Linked DNA regions of Homo sapiens: region 2 is linked to region 1. Evidence: promoter capture Hi-C in 16 types of primary human blood cells and fetal thymus (Javierre and others, 2016). All regions are on one chromosome and are shown on one strand. Each heading gives the region's core, a stretch centred on a gene start or on the middle of the fragment in contact. The rest is flanking DNA. Distances are from core to core; before and after follow the strand shown.

Evidence for each region. Contacts are between HindIII fragments. The CHiCAGO score rates a contact against its expected background, and 5 or more counts as called.
Region 2: a contact is called between a fragment that was not itself captured here and the fragment with the promoter of CPOX in region 1, in 6 of 17 cell types (activated CD4 T cells, total CD4 T cells, naive CD8 T cells and 3 more). The highest score is 9.1, in activated CD4 T cells.

What each region holds. Positions count from the first base shown.
Region 1 is chr3:98,591,501-98,597,232 of GRCh38, reverse strand. It overlaps CPOX (coproporphyrinogen oxidase), which reads left to right and starts at 3,622. Exons shown (of 7, transcript NM_000097.7): 1 at 3,622-4,284. The coding sequence starts at 3,729. RefSeq lists an enhancer at 3,084-3,133 and a silencer at 3,634-4,083. The HindIII fragment of the contact is 5,536 bases long and covers 1-4,582 here.
Region 2 is chr3:98,049,882-98,055,613 of GRCh38, reverse strand. It overlaps the pseudogene OR5BM1P. Among named protein-coding and RNA genes, the nearest start is that of GABRR3, 17 kb to the right of the region's middle. The HindIII fragment of the contact is 1,003 bases long and covers 2,174-3,176 here.

The DNA.
Region 1 (5,732 bases), core at 2,373-4,872:
TGATTATCTCCTGTCCTCCCTATAAACTCCTGCTCTGTACCTGCTAGTTCTTCTTTCTAAGTTCCCTATTTTTGTTAATCTTAGATATGTAGGCTCAAAACCCTAGAATCATATTCAAAAATTTCTCCCTCTGGTGGGCATTTATGGTACTTTCTGCTCATCACATTTCCCTTTGTCTAGAAATGATACCCCACATGATATCTCCAACTTCCCTACCCCAAAACACTAACGGGAGAGTCCATGTTCTTACATGATCCCATTTTTTCACTCATGGCTATTTTTTATTGGTTGGTCCCATGGTAGGTATTTGAACCAAGGTGGGAAACAGTCTATATCAGAAAGGCTTAAGCTGCAACAAAACACCTGGCAGACAGTTCTTTAAATTATTTTTTCTCATATAACAAGAAGTTCAAAGGTTAGTGGCCCAGTGCTGGTGCATTTGCTCATGGATGTCATCAGGACCAAGGTTCCTTCTTTCTGACTGCTCTGCAAACTTTTACATGGGACTTTCAGAGTCTTAGTCACAAAATGGTTGCTGCAACTCCAGACATTACATCAATATTACTATAGGGAAGAATTAGGGAGAAGCCACAGGGACTGAAAGGATAGGTACCATGAGTTAGTCCCTTTCATAAAACCTCCCTGAAATGGTATCTATACCTTTGTGAAAAAATAATTTCAAAATTACACCAGTTAAAGAAAAAGCAAGTTGACAACACTAAATTGCATTGGATATTTAGACTATAAATATAAACAGCTTTAAGAACCAATTATTTTAATAATCTATGTAAGCATTTGCTACTATAGACCTAAAAGTTTAAAATACAAATTCTAGGAGAAAAAAATGAATTAACATTTTAAAAATTCTACTTCCTTGGTAATCCTACCACCCCCCTCCCATCACCCCACCAAAATTTCTGATGAGTTGGGCAGAAGGATGCCAAGGCAAACACAGATTTTCAGCAATATTTTGTTACTAATTAGCCTGAGTTTCTGTATCTATCTGAAAGCAACAGAACTGAGTGAATTTGGTAATACATTTCTTAACTTTGGCTTTCAGAATTTTATAATTGTTGAAAATAGTATAGTTTAGTAAAAATAGTGAGAATTCTAGGTGTGTGTGTGTGTGTGTGTGTGTGTGTTGTTAGAAGGCAGTAAAGCTACCAGAGGGATAAACATTAGAACTCTCTCTAACATGCACCAGCAGGCCTAAAATAAGTTATGTTCAACAGGGCTTTAGGAAAAAGTTCGTAAGGATTCTGAGAAGCATGTGGAGTTTGAAAAATGATGTTTATGTACTAATACCTATAAGGCTAGGCAGAATCATCTTTGCAATAGGGTCACATAAAAAATAGTTGGAAAGCAATGCAAGAAACTAAGCTAAAAAACAGACAAGAACTTCTACTTTACACTTTACTTTCTACAACTTATTAGAAACTTTTTATTTGTCCCAACTAGTTTTCTGATGTAAGAAATTACTTAGATAGGTGATGTCTTTTTTTCTTCCCCCATACCGACAAATACAACTTAAATATAAGTATCCCACTTGGGAACAATTTGAACCTCCAGAAAGGTGATTTAAACTCACACTAACAAAGTTATTGAAGCCTTTCTTAAGCATTGAATAACAGTTTGCCAGTAGGGAGGGTGCTAGGAACCAGAGGAAGAAAGGAGTGAGGCCCTTCGTATAGAGAGGCTAAGGATGAGAGGGATGGAAACCTGGAATCTAGTATGCAATTTGCTCAGGATCAGCCTTTGTGACCGGGCAAATGTTCAAAACAGTCTGTTCTTACTTAGCTTTAACTAACTTTATGGGCTTTACTAACTTTATGGGTATTTTTAGCAGAATTAGAGCAATAATGAGGGGGTTTCTTACAAATAAACGTACCAGGGAGGTTCCTTTTCATTTGATGAGGTTCATTTATCATCACCAGGCCCAGCCCAACCCCATCACAGGCATCCAGTAGAGGCCATCAACCCTTCCTACAATGACAATTCTTATTTCCCTTCCTCCACTTCTAACTTGGCCTCCTGGCAGGTTGCACTATGACCAAAAGCTAATTGTTTTTCTTCCCTAAAAGTCGCTTAGTCACTTCTCAATCCAAGCCTTTACTTTTCACAGATTCTCAGTGGTGAGGCTTCGGCAAGCACACCCACCTTGCTAACATCATGTCCCAGTGAGAGCTGCCAGGTACAGTTGTGTGTGGACAAGATGCCAATTGATCTGACTCAAAAGCCATTGAAGTTCCATCAGTGCATCCTGCCACAAAGAAAACACTTGTGGGAAAAGCTACCAGTGGCTTAAATTATTATCTACTACTAGAAATTAAAATCATCCCGGAGACTTATGGGACAAATTAGCCCATGACAATAGTTCTCACACTTTTACGTCCAGGAACCATGGAGCTGTGGTATGGTTACAGGGGAGACAAAGACCTGCCTGTCAAATCTATTAGCTTCTTTCCTCATTTCTTTAAAGGGTGGGGGAAGGGAGACAGAGTAGGAGGAAGTGTGGATATTTGCCTTGCCTAGTTTGTAGCAGTTGTTGTAAGTATTAAACGTGAGCAATATTTGGGAGCACCCTACAGTAGTAGAATAACTATTTTTTAAATTCTTATTTGTTAATCACCAAAACACACCAAGTCAGGAATTTTCTACTGGTTAACCAAAACAGTCACGTTGCTTTTCCTTTTTCTAAAATAATCAAGTAGGCACTATAGAAGCAAGGCCTGGGGAAACCTTTTTTTTTTTTTTTTTTTTCTGAGACAGAGTCTCACTCTGTCACCCAGGCTGGAGTGCAGTGGTGCGATCTCGGCTCACTACAACCTCTGCCTCCCGGGTTCAAGCGATTCTCCTGCCTCAGCCTCCCGAGTAGCTGAGCCTACAGGTGCACGCCGCCACGCCCGGCTATTTTTTTGTAGTTTTAGTAGAGACAGGGTTTCACCATGTTGGCTGGTCTCGAACTCCTGACCTCATGTGATCCAACCGCCTCGGCTTTCCAAAATGCTAGCATTACAGGCTTGAGCCACCGCGCCCGGCCCCAGCCTGGGGAAATCTTAAGGACAGAACTGTGATGTGGACTCGATCACAGAAAGTCTTCTCCTCGACTCTCTTCCGAGTCCATTACTAGCTTCTCCCACTCTCTTTAGAAAACCATCCTTCAGCAAAGAGTTTCCCAGCCTGCCCATCCCCTCTAAAAACTCTAGAGGACCAGGACCCAGGGCGAAGGGCGGGTCTATACAGATCCTGAGCCAGGCTCTGTATTCGCAAATCCTGTTTGAAAATGTAAGCGGGACTGGGATCTCTGCCACATTTCCGCCCCAGTCCGCCCTCAGCCTCCCAGCCCTACTCTATCTTCTCTCCTTGGCTGAGTAAACAGCCGACCCGAGGTTGTACGTGACAAGAAAGCCTCTTTTATCTCTCCCGTCCCTTCCACAGCACCGTCCCCGCCCCACTCTCTTCCCTTCGGACCAGCCCTTCTGGGCGCGTCGGATTCTTATCTCCCGCCCCGCGCAGGGACGCCGCAGGCGGCGATAGGATCCGGACTACAGCTCCCAGCGCGCCCCAGTTCCCGCCCCCGCCTCCGGAGCCCGACGCTGCAGCGGCTCTTCTCGAAAGGTTCTTTCCGCCTGTGCAGCTCGCCGGCTCAATACTCCGGGGGTCTGGGTGGGGGGCTCAAACGCAGGGCTCTGGGACGCAGGCACTGCTCCAGGTGATAGTGCGGGAACATGGCCTTGCAGCTGGGCAGGCTGAGCTCGGGCCCCTGCTGGCTCGTGGCGCGGGGCGGCTGCGGAGGGCCCCGCGCCTGGTCCCAGTGCGGCGGCGGAGGGCTCCGAGCCTGGTCCCAGCGCAGCGCAGCCGGACGCGTCTGCCGGCCCCCTGGCCCGGCTGGCACGGAGCAGAGCCGCGGGCTGGGGCACGGCTCGACGTCGAGAGGCGGCCCCTGGGTGGGGACAGGGCTGGCCGCGGCGCTGGCGGGGTTGGTGGGGCTGGCCACCGCCGCCTTCGGGCATGTGCAGCGGGCGGAGATGTTGCCTAAGACCTCGGGGACGCGGGCCACTTCGCTGGGGAGGCCGGAGGAGGAGGAGGATGAGCTGGCCCACCGCTGCAGCAGCTTCATGGCCCCGCCTGTGACCGACCTGGGCGAGCTGCGAAGGAGGCCGGGCGACATGAAGACCAAGATGGAGCTGCTGATTCTGGAGACCCAGGCCCAGGTGTGCCAGGCTCTGGCACAGGTAGACGGGGGCGCCAACTTTTCTGTGGACCGGTGGGAGAGGAAGGAAGGTAAGGAGGCCGGCCCCTGGCGGGAGTTGGAGACAGGGAAAAAGGGTCAGGTTCCAGGTTGCAGACAGAAAATATAATAGTTCACAATATGGGATGGGGTAGGTAGGGGGTACCCACAGAGAGGCCGCTTGGTTAGAGGCCGCTGATAAAAAGATGGACACGAAAGGGTCACTAGCCCTCTGCTTGCAGGTATGGACCCGGATCAGCTGTCACTGTAGTACTGCATTTCAAAATCTTTGCAATTCCGTAGCAGCATTTTTTTGTAGAACTCTTAAGGGGTATTTGCAGCTAACAAGCTTAGATGTCCAAAGTTCGTTACTGAACATAAATTTCAATAGATTATGGAACACATTTTCTCTCCTTCTCTGGGTGAATTTGCCCTTTTTCCTCTTTAGGAGATGGAAAGAACTCATCTCCTGTGCGCTAAGTGTCGGCTAAACTCCTCCAGCCAGGATGTCATTGTGTCAGAATCTTCCCACTTCTTTTTACTGTTACACAAGATATATTTGATTCGTTTCTCAGTAGCACTACCAAATGCACGCATCAGATTTCCTGCTAGGAAAATCTTCTCTTCCAATATCAAAATACTTGAGCATCAAAACCCAGTTCTCGTAGAGGCGTACATTCATGACCATGTTGTTGCCCATACAGTGAAACCCCACATCTTGAGTGGAAACTTGAAAGATTCCTGACTTTTCCTAGCTGGAAATACAACAGCAGCTTCTCACCGGCAGATTTTGAGCTGTGATACTGACACATCTATATTAAATGAAGTTCAGTCTAGTTTTCCATCTTATGTTTTCAAGCAAAGACCACTGAACCAGGACACAACCTCAAGTACTAGACCAGCTGTGTGATCCTCAGAAGTTACTTTTTTATGGCTGTTTTCCCATCTATGAAATATATATGTATTTCATCTCTTTTAATCCTCATACTACATATATATATATATATATCCATATACATATATATATATATATATGGATGGAATATATGTGAAGTGCTTAGAATATTGTCTGAAGCATAGACAGCATTTAGACAAATTGTTGCAGCCACTTGTCAGCAGTTTGATCTTGGATAAGATGTTTTGCCCCTCTGGTCCTCAGTTTTCTCATTTGGAATATATGAGGGTTGTACTGGATCATCTTATGTCCCATCCAGCTCTAAATGTTCTTAGAAATAAAACAAGCCAAACATGAACTTTCATGAAACATTGCCCTTGCAGTGACCCTAATACCTTAAGAAAAAAAATTAGTAAGGCTGATACACGTGAATACTAATGTGCGTCTCACTCACTCTAAGGTTCTGAATCCCTTCAGAATTTGATTACCTACTGTTTCTTAATTGCTTGTAAATTAAAAGGCAAGCAGCCCACTGAGAAAGAAATTTTTGAAACAATATAGATCTCTTAAATTCAGTAATAATAGAACACCCTTCAAGTCTACCCA
Region 2 (5,732 bases), core at 1,426-3,925, 540 kb after region 1:
CAGATTGTGCCAACGGACTTGGATGAACAATGGAAGTTAGTGTCTGCCAGTCTTCAACATTTCTCACCTGGGAGTGCCCTAATTAACTAACCAATTAGTACAGCTCTGTGATTTGGGATTTCTGCTCAGCCAATGAACTGCCTCTTTAAGGGACATGATTCAGGACTCAGACATAAGTAATTTAAAAGTCTGCTCTTCAGGCTATCTTGTTAAAAGGTCAAGTACTAGATTTTTCCCACCTCAGAAACTATGAAAAAAAATGTTAAAATAAGAAATTAATTTCCATTGTTTAATATTTGCAAAACTATTGTCCCCTTTGACTATATAGCTGCCTGTGGCTGTTTTCCTCTCGGGGAGTGTGAGGATGTCAGTCCTGCTCTATGTGAATCTAGCTGAGGAAAGCATGTAGAATGTAGTACTCTGGTCTCTAGGTCTCAACCCAAATCAGTGGGGATTTTTCTTGAAATAATATAGGTGTAATGATGAGAGAGAAAGGTTATACATTGACATACGGCCACTATGTAGGCAAGACTAATCAGCCTGTATGGCATATTACATATAAAATTAGAACACTTTGTCGCTGGGGTTGACTATAGAGAGATGGAGACAGGAACTCCTGCAGAGATTCTGCAGCCACAGGGTACACCTGCTTAAAATGGAGTCCCCACAGCAGAAGGCACAGCTCAGATGCAATGAGAGGAACCGGGTTCTGAAAAAACTGAACCCTAACAAACTATTCCTAAAGCCACTGTGCCTCATTTGGGGCTTTGGGTTATATCATTCAACAAACTGCCATTTCTTCACTTTTTTTTAAAGCCAGGGTAAAAGCAATGTATTATGCATATGGAAAAATCTTTCTTGAGTATTTTCTCAAGAGAATACTCTCTTGAGTATTCTCAAGAGTCTAAGTAATAAAAGTAAGGAGGTCAAAGTTTGCCTACTCATGAAAGGGCCAGATAGAATATATACACAATGTAGGTAAGAAAAAAAATTAGCTTAATATATTTAACTGACAGTTGATCAAGCACACCTGCTGGTTCAGGCAGGTGTCAATGCCAGAAAACACTATTCAGGTAGGATATGTGTGTCAGGAATGCAGTGCTCAGTAGGACTACTCAATAAATTAAAAAGTAAAAGTTTTAGAAGAACTCAGAAATTTTCTAACTATATTGCAGAAATTTGAATTACTTTTAGTATTTTTGTTGTTACATTTACATATCTTTCAATGGAGGCAATGAAACATGTTACTTTTCAAAATTGCTTTTAAACCAAATGGAAATCTTAGTTTTAAATGTTTTAAGAGGATATGTGTTGTCATATTTGGCCTAACAGTATTATTTTTATTAACATTCTGATATATTATTATAAATATCTGCTAAAGAGAAAGTTTGAAAAATGCCTTGTTCAAGAATTATTTAGAAGTGCATGAATACTTTGAACACTTTTTAAATTATATAGGTGGGGTCTTCCTTTAAATAACTGCAAGTAAGTTCTAAAACATGTATGTCTGTATTTCATGTAGTTCATTCATGTTACAAAAACTTGTTACTAAGTCTTTGTAAAATGAATGAACTCTTGTGTTTCATTCATGTTACAAAAACAGTAATGTGGCATTATAATTTCAGTTTGAACTTCATCCTTGAGTATGTACTTAAAACAACAACAAAAATGTGGTGTTTGTCCTTAAATGCTCATTAACTATTTTAATGATCAGAATAACTTATAACTAAGACAAGAATATTTAGTCTAAATTTTTTTATTCATTCACTTAACATATTGTGTCCCTACTATGTGTAAAACACAGAAACAATTATTACGATTTGTTTTAACAGAAAGGAAATGGAAAGAATTATGAAAGTGTTCTCCAAAAATATTTCTTTATCATTGTTCTAAGTGTACCTAAAACTTCTTTGTTTTTCATACTGTAAATAAAGGAGTCTGCAGAGGAATTATAATCATGTAGAACGGAAAATACATTTCATTCCACTGTTAATCTGGGCCAGACCTGGGGCACCCATACATGAAGAAGACACTGCTATAGAACAAAGAGACAGAGAGCAGGTGGGCACTGCACATGAGGAAGCTTTTGCTTCTGCCCTTCTCAGAATTCTTTTTCAGTAAGGCAAAGAGGACTTGGGTATAAGAAACTATGATGATCATAAAAGCAAAAGCTTGTATAAAAGCAGTGAAAACCACAAAATCACTAATGAGTTAATAAATGGATCAATGTAAGAAATTGTATATTGTACACTGAAAAAATGGTAAGATTTTTTTAAAATACATATTATTTCTTGAGGGTTATAGAGGAGATTCTAGACAAGAACTAACTAGTCCCATAGCCTGCCACTCATAAGTACCTTAAAATTGAATGTATTAACAACGAAGTGTTTTAAGAGCAAAAGGTACACGGTATATTTTATGCCAAAATCTTAGAAAATGAGACTTTGTTTTGGGTTCAAAAGTGTATTTTCTCATTCTTTCAGGAACTTTTTTATCTTTCTAGAACAAAAAATGATCTGATCCTCTTGGTATTACAAACGGGACTATCACAGTCAAGGTGGAATAAAACATTACAAAAACATCATAGTAGAAAGAATGGCCAGTGTTTTGAATATCTGGATTCAATTTAAGTGATAAGTTAAATAGTAAATTATAAATTTTATTTAAATAACAAATTAAATGGGGAGAAAGGATTAACCAAATTAATAGGCAATGACTAACATAAACATAGGTAAGGCAATGCAGAAAAAGCCTCAAGCTAAAAGTGTATCCATGAGTTTTACAAGCCTGGAAAGTAAATGGAAAGGAAACTAAACGAGATCCTGTGGAAACACAGGGTGAAAAAATATGTCTGTATCATCAATACATGTCTTTAATGACAAACTTTGCATAATTCCGGACATAAAATATGTTTTACATATTCAAATCCCTGCCTTGTTGATCTAAAGCAGGAACTACCTACTTATAAAACAGTAGGCCTAAGTATACAACCATTCAAGGGAACATTTATAAGTATTAGATTTACAACTCTTAAGGTTTAATGACAAGGCCAGCCAGTAGGTGTTACAACGTGACATATTTTTATTTCTATTAACTAGTCACCAATTCTGTATAACTGTAGCTAAAGTCTTCACTTCCCAAGTCTGTGCAGGCCTGAAACTCGTTTTCTCAAAGCTTCTGCTTTGTTAACTCAAAATTAAGGCACAATAATGGAAAATTTAAGGAAAAGTTTTAGAGTTAGTGAAAAACAACAGTAAAAATACATAGAACGATTGGGATTTTTAATTTTTAATTTTTTTTATTTCCAAAGGTTTTGGGGAACAGTTGGTGTTTGGTTATATGAATAAGTTCTTTAGTGGTGATTTCTGAGATTTTGGTGCACCCATCACACAAGCAGTGTAGCCTGTAACCTGTACCCGAGGTGTAGTCTTTTATCCCTCGCCACCACCAACACTTTCCACCGAGTCCCCAAAGTCCAATGTATCGTTCTTATGCCTTTGTGTCCTCATAGCTTAGCTCCCTCATATAAGTGAGACCATACAATGTTTGGTTTTCCATTCCTGAGTTACTTCACCTAGAATATTAGTCTGCAATTCCATCCAGGTTGCTGCAAATGCCATTCTTTCATTCTTTCTTATGGCTGAGTAGTATTCCGTTATATCTATCTATCTATCTCACATTTTCTTTATCCACTTGTTGATTGATGGGCATTTGGGCTGGTTCCACATTTTTGCACCTGCAAATTGTGCTACTATAAACATGTGTGTGCAAGTATCTTTTTCATATAATGGCTTCTTTTCCTCTGGGTAGATACCTAGCAGTGGGATTGCTGGATCAAATGGTAGATCTACTTTTAATTTTTTTTTTTTTTTTTGAGACGGAGTCTTGCTCTGTCGCCCAGGCTGGAGTGCAGTGGTGCGATCTCGGCTCTCTGCAAGCTCCGCCTCCTGGGTTGACGCCGCCTCAGCTTCCCGAGTACCTGGGACTACAGGCGCCCACTACCACGCCCGGCTAATTTTTTGTATTTTTAGTGGAGACAGGGTTTCACCATGTTGGCCAGGATGGTCTCGATCTCTTGACCTCGTGATCCACCCCACTAGACCTCCAAAAGTGCTGGGATTACAGGCATGAGCCACCGCGCCCGGCCTACTTTTAATTTTTTAAGGAATTTTCACGCTGTTTTCCATAGTGGTTGCATTAGTTTGCATTCCCATCAACAGTGTAAAAGTGTTCTCTTTTCACCACATCCACGTCAACATTAATTTTTTTTTCTTTATTCTTGCAGGAGTGAGGTGGTATCGCATTGTGGTTTTGATTTGCATTTCCCCCATAATTAGTGATGTTGAGCATTTTCCCATATGTAAGCGGCATAATGTATAAAATTCCATAATTGTGGCTGAATAGGAAAGCTCAATCTATTAAAACTTAACTTTCACAAATAAACATAAATTTCATATAATTTTATACAAAATCATACGGAGGTAATTTGTCTAGAAAATTCTAATTTATCTGGAAAAGCAAATGTGTAAAAAAAAAAAGCCAACATAATTTTTTTTTTAAAAAAAAAGGAAGTTCATGTTCCATGCCAGATATTGCAATTTATCAGAAAGTTACTTTAACAATTGAAACCATGTTTAACGTCATCAAGGTTCACTGTGGGTATATTCACTAAAATTGGAGCGTCTGTTTATAGACATGGGGAAGGAAAAATAGCAAAGCTGATTAAGAGCACAGACTTTGGAAAAGGCAGTTTTGGTGGCTTTGCTTCTGAGACTTTGGTCAAATAACTTAAAATGTCTAAACCTTGGTTTCCTCACTTGTGAAATAAAGTTAATAATGTGCACTTACAAAGTTGTTGCAAGAATCAAATGAGAAGATGAATGTCAAGCCCTCACCCCTGTACTTGATAGATAGGTAAGGAATCATTAAATGGTGGTGACTTTAATTATTTCACTCTGTCTCCCAGGCTGGAGTGCAGTGGTGCAATCTCAGCTCACTGCAACCTCGGCTTACTCGGTTCAAGCAATTCCCCTGCCTCAGCCTCCTGAGTAGCTAGGACCACAGGTGTGAGCCACCACCCAAGGCTAATTTTTGTACTTTTAGTAGAGATAGCATTTCATCATGTTGGCCAGGCTGGTCTCGAACTCCTGACCTCTGGTGATCCCCCACCGTCTCGGCCTCCCAAAGTGCTGGGACTAGAGGCATGCGCCACTGTGCCCAGACAGTTATTTCTGTTATTTATTTTAATTATTCACAAGGAAAGCAGCAACGCTGTTTTGTAAGAGAATCGCATTCTGAGTGAGAAAATCAAGATATGTGCTGTTGATTTGCCAAATTCTTGACAATAACAACTTAACCCTGTACACAAAATAACTTTTACAACCAACTCAAGCCATCTGCAAGTTGTCATGGAGACCAGAAAATAGTGATTTAGGTTAAGCAAATGAGGCACATCTTCTAGAACGACAAAAACTATAGGTATAGCATGTTTTAAAGAGAAACATTTAACATTTTAATGAAAATAACAGACATCGTGACATTTCACAACTAAACACTCCAGGCTGCATCTTTTCAAAAATGACATTTTCCTTCCTAACCACGGTACCATACTGACATCTGACAAAATTAACAGTATTCTCTCAACACTATCTTATAACTAGTATATATTCAAATTTCTCCATTTGTTTCTTATCTTTTACAGCATCACATTGCATTTGTTGTCTCTATCAAGA